Regions from separate parts of the Homo sapiens genome. Here all the other regions are linked to region 1. The links are contacts of gene promoters, found by promoter capture Hi-C in human tissues and cell types (Jung and others, 2019). All regions are on one chromosome and are shown on one strand. The core of a region is centred on a gene start or on the middle of the fragment in contact, and the rest is flanking DNA. Distances in the headings are between cores, read along the strand shown.

Evidence for each region. Contacts are between HindIII fragments. The study calls those that stand out against the background at their distance.
Region 2: a fragment that was not itself captured here is called in contact with the fragment with the promoter of FOXO3 in region 1 in 1 of the 25 tissues and cell types used here (dorsolateral prefrontal cortex).
Region 3: a fragment that was not itself captured here is called in contact with the fragment with the promoter of FOXO3 in region 1 in 2 of the 25 tissues and cell types used here (aorta and dorsolateral prefrontal cortex).

What each region holds. Positions count from the first base shown.
Region 1 is chr6:108,559,419-108,562,465 of GRCh38, reverse strand. It overlaps FOXO3 (forkhead box O3), which reads right to left and starts at 1,549. Exons shown (of 3, transcript NM_001455.4): 1 at 637-1,549. The coding sequence starts at 1,257. RefSeq lists an enhancer at 572-1,072 and silencers at 1,516-1,735, 2,715-2,784, 2,825-3,047. The HindIII fragment of the contact is 10,207 bases long and covers 1-3,047 here.
Region 2 is chr6:107,643,599-107,646,645 of GRCh38, reverse strand. The region is part of intron 6 of SOBP (sine oculis binding protein homolog); the gene reads right to left. Among named protein-coding and RNA genes, the nearest start is that of SOBP, 160 kb to the right of the region's middle. The HindIII fragment of the contact is 4,361 bases long and covers 1-3,047 here.
Region 3 is chr6:109,086,087-109,089,133 of GRCh38, reverse strand. The region is part of intron 1 of SESN1 (sestrin 1); the gene reads left to right. Among named protein-coding and RNA genes, the nearest start is that of SESN1, 7.2 kb to the left of the region's middle. The HindIII fragment of the contact is 4,774 bases long and covers 1-3,047 here.

The DNA.
Region 1 (3,047 bases), core at 300-2,799:
GGAGCGACATCTCCGAGAAGAAAAGGTATCAATATAGGCAAGGAAAGGAAGCCGTCCAGGAAAAGGTTTGCAACCACTGCTTTTTCTAATCGGATCGATGTGCCTGTAGGTGTTAACACCCACAAGCTGAAACTTGGACCCGAAGGTTCTCATTCAGCTAGTGACGACGCAACATGCTCCTGCGACAGACTGGAAACCACACATCCAACCCCTCCTCCAGACACTGCGTCCCAAACACCCCCACACCTCTCACTCCAGCCACAGCGCCCGCACCAGACCCCCACTACGGTAAACTCTACTCCAAAGTTGGCTGCGGACCTACCTCCTCGGTGCTGTCCGGAGAATCCAGCAAATGTACTCCTGTCCGTTCGCCCTTCCCTCGCCGGCGTCCCCTGCCCCCTCTCCTCACCTGGCCATGCCCCAAGCTTCTGGGGAGCCTCATTCACCCCTCCGAGACCGTCCCCAGGTGCCCCGACTCCGGGGATCAAAGATAACCCCCAAAGCCTCGCAGCGGAGGCTCCCCCTGCCAACCCCTTGCCCTGGAGCCCGCAAGCGCACTCCGACGAATCCGAGACGCGTCTCGCGCTGCGCAGGAGGCCCGGCGGGTCCTGCTGCCAGCCCGGGGTGGGTACGCACCTTCCAGCCGGCAGAGCTGTTGCTGTCGCCCTTATCCTTGAAGTAGGGCACGCAACGCACCATCCACTCGTAGATCTGGGACAGAGTGAGCCGTTTGTCCGGGGAGCTCTCGATGGCGCGGGTGATCAGGTCCGCGTAGGACAGGTTTCCCCAGGCGTTCCGCCGCGACGAACATTTCCTCGGCTGCCCGGAGCCCCCAGCCGCCCCCGGCTGCGGCGGTGGCAGCGGTTGCTGAGGCTGCAGCAGCGCCTGTGTACCCCCGCTCAGCCCGCCCGCCGCGGTGGCTGGCCCAGACCCGGGGTCTTGCCCTCCGGGTGCCAGCACCCGGGCCGAGTCCTCAAGGAGCAGCCCGGAGCCCAGCGTGCCGCTCCCGCCGCCGCCGCCGATCGCCATGGCCGAGCCGGCCCGTCCCCCGCCGTCCTCGTCGTCTTCATCGTCCTCCTCCTCGGGGATCATGGAGTCGGCGGCCGTCTCCCCCGAGGGCTTGGCAGGGCTCGCTTGGAGCTCCGGCCTTTGCAGGGGCCACGTACAGGATCGCGGACGGCTCTGGGGCTCGAACTCCGGGTCCAGCTCCACTTCGAGCGGAGAGAGCGGGGCCGGGGAAGCCGGTGCCTCTGCCATCTTCGCCGCCCGCCCGCCCGCGGCTGGGGCTCTCGCGCTCTCCTCTCGCGCCGGGGCGGGGTGCAGCGGGGGAGGGACGTGGACGCCGCGAAGGCTCCGGCTCCCGGGCGCCGCCGCCGCCGCCTGGGGAAGCACCAAAGAAGAGAGAAGGAGAGTTGGTTATCCCGGGCCGGAGCCCCGTCCTCGGCGAGTCCTCGCCCGCTGCCGCCACCTCCCAGTCCTGCCGCGCCCGCCTCCCAGGAACAGGAGGACCTGAAGACGTGCGGCCAGCGAACCTGGCGCAGCAGACACCGCCCCCCGGCCAGGCCGCGATGGAGCCGCGAGCGAATCGACGGCCTCGCGCGGGGCAGCCCCCTCCCCCCGCCGCCCAGCCGCAGGTCCCTCCCGGGCTAGGCGGCGGGGCGGGGAGAAGGGGGAGGGGCGCCCGGGGGAGGGGCGGCCGCGCCTTTAAAGCGGGCAGCGGCCGGAGCTGGCGCAGCCGAGCCGCGGTCAGAGCCCGAGCTCGGGTGTGCGTGCGTTTGTTTATGTTTCGCTCGGGCCCGCTCTAGTGCCTCCCGCGGCGCCGCCGCTCAAGTCTGTGCTGTCTTCGGCTCTTCTCCCCTTTCCTAGCCTGGCCGCCTCCGCGACCCCCCGTCACCCCCCACCCGGTCGAATGGCCCGAGCCCGGGGACTGCGCGGGCAGCTCCCTCTCCCCTCTTCGCCCGCGGGCCAGAGGGCGAACGGGGGTCTGGGCGCAGATGGGCCCTTGTCACTTCCAAAAAATAAAGGAAAGACAGAAAGAAGGGGGAGCAGCAGCCCAGCGGGTGTTCGCAGAGGTTCGAGCCCGGCGGGGACGGCCACTTCGGGGTTTTGTGTGGTTTGCATTCTCGCGGACGTCGTCCCCTCCGCCCCCTTCCCAGTCGGGATCCGGGGGAGGGAGCGAGTCGGAACATAAATCTTCCAACAGGTCGGGAAGCGCCAAGTCTCCCGGGCTGCTAGAAAACCCGGACCAGCACGTTCATCACCTCCTTGCTCCCGCTGCTGCCATCTTGACAGTTTCCCCCTTCCCGAGTCCTTTAAAAACACTAGCGGGCGAGAAGGGGGGCGCGCACACCGCGGCTCAGGGAGGGGAAAGGGAAGCGCCCGGCCCAGCTCGGAAGCAGATCCGGAGTCACCGGGAAGGCGGCCGCCCGCTGCACGGCTCCGGCGCCTACCTCGCTTCCTTCCCTTCAGGGACGCGGCGGGACGACGCACGATCCCGCGCGGGCCCGGGGCACGGCGAGGAGGGGGCGCGCAACCTCGGCGAAGGAGAAGCGCTCGGGCCGTCGCCGCAGCCCGCCCGAGGAACCGCCTGTCAGCTCGCGCGCCGCCACCTTCCACATTCCTCCTCCTCCCTTCCACGAGCAGGGCGGCCGCGGCAGCAGCACAAAGTTATAGACACACGCAGGGCGCCTCAACCTAGGCTGACGGCGGGCGGGTCCCCGCCCAGGGGGAGGGCTGGGCGGCGGGCTGGGCGGCGGGCCGGGCGCGCGGCGGGCGTGCGTGTGTGAGTGCGCGTGTGTGAGCTCGCGCGCGCCTGCGCGGCCCGGCTCCGCGGGGCTGCGGGCGTGGGTGTCCGGGCGCGCGCCGTGGGCCGGGACTCGGCGGGCTCCCGCTGCTGTCCCCGCTGGGCTCCTCCTCCCTCCCGAGAGTCTCAACGACAACAAAGCGCGGCGCTGGCCCGGGAGAGGAGGGAGAAGGGGGGAGAAGGGAGGAGAGGAGGAAGAAGTGGGGAGAGGAGGGAGAAGGGGGAGCGGCAGGAGCGCACAGCC
Region 2 (3,047 bases), core at 198-2,697, 920 kb after region 1:
CTGATGCTGAGAAAATCTCCGGAGATGTCTAAGGAATATAGAGCAAGCCCCCTGAGCCTTTCTGCTGCCCTTCGGTCTAAGGACAGACAGTCTAGGCATCGCTGTGTAACCTCCACATTCCACATTCGTGAAGTCCGCTGCTGCAAGAGCCAGGGCCTGCCTCTGTGCATGCATGAAACAGCAGCCCACATCTGCCCTTCCCTGCTGGCTTAAGGCTCAGAGCTGCTGGTTGGTCAGAAGGGTGGGGCCTCTGTTTCTGTGGCCATCTGGAGCCAAGCCAGCATCTTCCTTCTTTAGATCCTGGAATGGTCTGTTGATTGTGAGATTTCCTTCCACCGTGCATTGTGACATTTCCTTAGGCCCACTTAGCACAAAGAAAGTTCTTCTCACTGTCCAGAGACAATGGCTTTCCATACTTAACCCATAGATCTGGCAGCGCATGTCCCTCGCACTCCAGCGATGACGTTCTGCAATGTTTAGAATCAACTGCTGGCAATTAGCCTGCCATCAGAATGCAACCATCAGCTTTAGCAATGTCAGTCTTTCAGTCTACAAAGAGCTGCTCAAGTAATTTTCCTCAAACACAGATTTCATCTTGTCATTCTTGTGCTTGAGGCCACAGTGACGTTGCCCAATGTATTGAGTACAAATTCCCCAAACTCCTGTTCTACCACCTTCCCACTCTCCTCCAGCCTCATGCTTCTCACCCTCTGTGGTCAAGCCCTTTGTTCCAGCCAAGTGAACCGGAAGGTCATCCCTAATACAGCTTGCTCTTTTCTGTGTCTGTGCCCTTTAACATGCTACTTCACCCCTCATTTCTCCACCCCTGATCGCCAGCCCACATCCCTCCTCAGGTTCAGAATTCAGAATTCATCGACCAGAAGGCACTACATCAAGGCAGCTTCATTAGCTGTTCCTCTATGGAGACGCTTTCATTCATGTGATCACTGAATACTTGTGTGCTCATTCTTCCAGCCCCTGTGCTAGGCACTTGGTTACAACAATGAGTGAACTGGACCCGGTCCCTGCTCTTGCGAAGCCTACTGTCTGCAGTGTCACATCAGTTTGCAGGTTCTGCATGTTGCTTGTAAAAGTGACCTTGGCTTTTTTTTTTGTCTCTCAGTAGGTTATTAGTTCTTCAAATCAAGTCAAGGACTCCTGCCACACACCCTCCCCTACTTTTTTTCTTTTCTCTCTTTCCCTCTCTCTCTCTCATCTTTTAATAACACAGACCTGAGCAAAGTCAGCATTAGATATTGTTAGTGCAAAATGGATATGTTTTACCCTCTAGGGAAATAAATGAAGACTATCTCTGAACTATGAATGAGCAAAAGGGGACTGCTTCCCTCTGTTTGGATATGATGAGGAGTTATTAAGTTTCGCAGATTGTAATATATGAATTAAGTATACATTTAGGATTTATAAAATCCAAAAATAGGATTTTAAAAGTTATTATTGCTATGCATAGGCCACACACACACATGCACACACACACACCCAGAGCTAAGACAAAGGACAAGTTGATCACCTGATCGGACAGTGAGAAGTGCTGTCAAAATCAGGATGAGAACCCTGAACCAGTAGCCCTCATCTTCATTTGCAAGGTTATAATGTTTTTCCACCAAAAATTTTTCATAGTCTTTCAATCAATATTTAAGGTCCATGTTGCCTAAACCTTGGGGATTATGAAAATAGCCACTAAGTCCCATGTTTATGATGCCATCTTATTTAATGGGAGGATTGAAGAGATCTGCATGTATTTTTGGTTTGGCAAATCTTAGAATTATTTTTTCAACATTTGGGTTTGGATAAAACCAAAACTTATTTTGCCAAGCACTTTGGCCTTAATTTTCAAACCCATGTGTATTTTAAAAGAAATTTGATCTATGTGTTTCTGACTCATTTACACTTAACTCATGAGAATGCTGTTTGGTAAGAGCTATTAGATGTCCAAGCAAGTTTATGAGCCTTTTAAAGCCTTCTTTTCCCCATTCTTACCAGAAAGTTGTATTTTGCCAGCCATAAAAGAGTGTGAGCCCCAGGGGCCTGTGATCACTTTGAAATTTATAACCTCCAAAGCTTAAATGGATTCTGCGTTTGGAAAAAGGGTTTCCCCCTCCTCTTTTTCATATTAAGTGCACAAACAGGCTACCTATGATAAAGACAGGATCCTATGTCTTAGCTTCCAAGATGGCTGAAGGCAAATAGTAAAGAATTCAATCCAACCACCAATAAATTGTCCCTAAGACATTTCAGAGGAACAATATGACACTTTAAGTTCATGTGGACACAGACTGAGATCCAACACTCTAATGGGAAGTTTTTTGTTTGTTTTTTGTTTTGAGATGGAGTCTCACTGTGTCGCCCAGGCTGGAGTGCAGTGGCACGAATTCGGCTCACTGCAACCTCTGTCTCTCAGGTTCAAGCTGTTCTCATGCCTCAGCCTCCCAAGTAGCTGGGACTACAGCCATGCGCCATCATGTCCAGCTAATTTTTTATATTTTTAGTAGAGACAGGGTTTCCCCATGTTGGCCAGGCTGGTCTTGAACTCCTGACCTAAGTCTGATCCACCCGCCTTGGCCTCCCAATGTGCTGGGATTACAGGAGTGAGCCACCACGCTCACGTGTGGGACTCAATACGGTTCAGGTTAGAACACTTTAGCTTTTGAGTGCTGGGGAATTTCTTTGTTTTAAATCACAGACAACCAATCTTGTTTATGATTTTTTAATACATTTAAAAAATAATAAAATAAGCTGATTCTACTAAAAATGACATTTGAATTAAAACCAGAAAAGCAAGAAGAATGTGAATGCATGCTGCAGCAACTTCATCTTGTATCTTCTATAATGATGCTCAGATACTACTCAATTATAGTATTCTAGTGGGAGAAAGCTTTTGGGTAAATTACTTAAAAATGGCTTATAAAGGCTGGGCATGGTGGCTCATACCTGTAATCCCAGCACTTTGGGAGGCCTAGACAGGTGGATGATGAGGTCAAGAGATGGAGACCATCCTAGCCAACAGGGTGAAACCCCATCTCTACTAA
Region 3 (3,047 bases), core at 286-2,785, 530 kb before region 1:
CAAGGGAGAAACGATGACAAGGTGGTAGAATGAATTCAATTCCAAGCAGCTAAATCTGTTAAAAAAAAAAAAAATGGACACATTGGGAGATAGCATCTTTTGTTTATACCCCAGTTCTCAATTTATTGATTCCACATCAGCATGTTTAAATATATTCACATTTTTGAGAAATATTCTGGGCCAGGCAGTCACTGTACTTAGGACTTGAAGATCAGTAAGACTTGTTTCCTGCTTTTGAAGAAGGTTTTCTATTCTCATCCAAGGCTTTATACTGGGTTTTTAAAGAAACTTTAAAAAGAAGAATTACACCTTTTGATACTCTTGATTCTCTAAACAAAGGAATGGGAGTATTAATACTGGCCCACTTTCCTAATATAGTCTACTGGTGAACTATAGTCTTGATGATACATGTAATTAAGGAGGAAAATATGAGAGCACATATGTATCAAAAGATTTTGAGGCCTATCCAGAATAGCCAAGTACTTTTCCAAGAATGGTCATTTGGTCATTTTCATAAGTTTGCCAGCAATCAATATTGTCTGAAAGTAAATTGGCTTAAGATAGAAAATTTAGAATAAGCAACAAAATACTTATCTTTGGTAAGTGGGGTGGTGGAGGCTTTCATTTAGTAAAGTGATTATTACCCCCCCACCTCCAGGAGAAATGAAACTTTCGTTGCTGGGTAGGATGCACATTTATAGCTGTTAGAGTTACAGTTGGAGTTGCAGTATCTAGTTGCTATCCAATTGAGTAATAAATAGATTGAAAATGTAACAATAAGTTTATTATTTCACATAATAAGTCTGGAGGTTGGCAGTTCCAAGCTTGATTGATTCATTGGCTCAACTACATTACTTGTCTGCTTTCTTTTTTTTGTTCTCCTTCCTCAGCATAGCAAATGATGTCTCCATTCCTACAGCATGCTATTCCAGGCACCATGTGCAGACATGACTATCTGCAGCTAAGAAGAAAAGAGTTTCTTCCCACGTCTCTCTCTCGGGGAAGAAAACCTTTCCCAGAAACCCTCTAGCAGACTTCCTCTCAGTTTCTATTGACTGGGATTGGGTCACATGCCCTTTTCTAAGCCAGTCATTGATGAAGAAATTGGGCATTTCTATTTTTGGTTTGGACTAATCAGCATTCAGCCCCTAAGGACCAGGAGACCCGCCCCCTGCCCCCCCATCACTTGAACAGAAAATTTCTCGATGAGGAGAAGCAGTACAGAAGGCAGTCAGGCCTAATTAGAGGCTTCCATTAAAACTGCATGTGTATCTAACTAGATAATATATCACTTGGTCTATTTATAATTTGGATCCGATTAGATTAGAAGCATACTTAATTCATTTTTAGTGGGGCTATAAAATATAACAGATTGGAGACATTCTAGAAGCAGATTTGGTCTTTTTAAATGATTGTTTTGTTTTGATTTTTTTTTAACTGCCATTTAGTGGAGCCAAAAGTCTAAGGTAGTGCATGTCAAACATTCACTGCTGACTCTTAGATATCACAGCAAATATGAGAGTCCTCTTTCAATATTTACACTAAGCTTCTCTCTTCCATACCACTATTTTCTGGCCTTTCTTATTTTATTGATACGTTGTGAACTCGGTCCCTTTCCCTCAGAAAGCCTTGTGGCTTACTTCTCATTGCCTCCTCTCATTCGTGTCTTTGACCACTTTCCTTCCTTGCTTTTGAGGCTCAGAGAATATTCTTTATTCTCAGGTTTTCTGTCCTTCTTTGGATAAAGAATGTGAAGAAACTGAAGGCAAATCTTTAACTTTTTTTTTCTAAATTGTTTGAAGACAGCCAATTTTTTTTCACTTTCTGACTTACAGGAGGAATCATATCTGTACTATCTATACTCAGTGTCTTCTTTATAATATATAAATACATCCTGTCCTATGTTTTGACTCTTCAGAAAGATCAAAATTAACAACAGTACTCTTTATGTGTTCAGATTTCGTCTATTTTATTTTATTTATTTTTGTTTATTTATTTATTTTGAGATGCTGTCTTGCTCTGTCGCCCAGGCTGTAGTGCAGTGGCACGATCTTGGCTCACTGCAACCTCTGCCTCCCGGGTCAAGCAATTCTCCTGCCTCAGCCTCCTGAGTAGCTGGGATTACAGGTGGGCGCCACCACGCCCAGCTAATTTTTCTATTTTTAGTGGAGACAGGGTTTCACCATGTTGGCCAGGCTGGTCTTGAACTCCTGACCTTGTGATCCACCCATCTCGGCCTCCCAAAGTGCTGGGATTACGGGCATGAGCCACAGTGCCCGGCCTGATTTCATCTATTTTATTCCTGTTGGAGTGCCCCCATTGGCCTCTAACATGAAAAAAACTGATTCATTTAAAAAATATTTTTCTAACATAGTTATTTTGTTTACAAATGGGATATAGTATTTTGTACAAAGATGTTAAACACTTGCATAGTAAATTTTACTTTAAGATCATGGGTTGTTCATGACATCATGAAGGATCCTCTAAAACAATGGCTTAATTAGAATTTTTTCTCATTTTCAACACTTTGTGTCCTTAAAGGTGCTGTATGTGCAGACCATTCATGAAGTAAAAGAATTAGAAAGTAGGTGTACTGTTGTCTTTGTTTAGAGTTATATTTATTTTTCTCTTGATAAGCCATGAGAAATTTGCAAAATATCTTTTTACCATTTGAATAGGTAATTAATAATTCAAACTGCTAACTTAAGGATTGTTGAAACTTTGGTCTGACAGAAAGTAGCTGTGGAATCTTGGGTATAATAAAGGATTCTTTTTGTTTTTTGAGATGGAGTCTCACTCTGTTGCCCAGGCTGGAGTGCAGTGGCATGATCTTGGCTGTCTGCAACCTCCACCTCCCGGGTTCAAGCAGTTCTCCCTGCCTCAGCCTCCCGAGTAGCTGGGATTACAGGTATGCGCCACCACACCCAGCTAGTTTTTAGTAGAGATGGGGTTTCACCATGTTGGCCAGACTGGTCTTGAACTCCTGACCTTAAGTGATCTGCCTGCCTTGGCTTCCCAAAGTGCTGGGATTGCAGGTGTGAGCCACC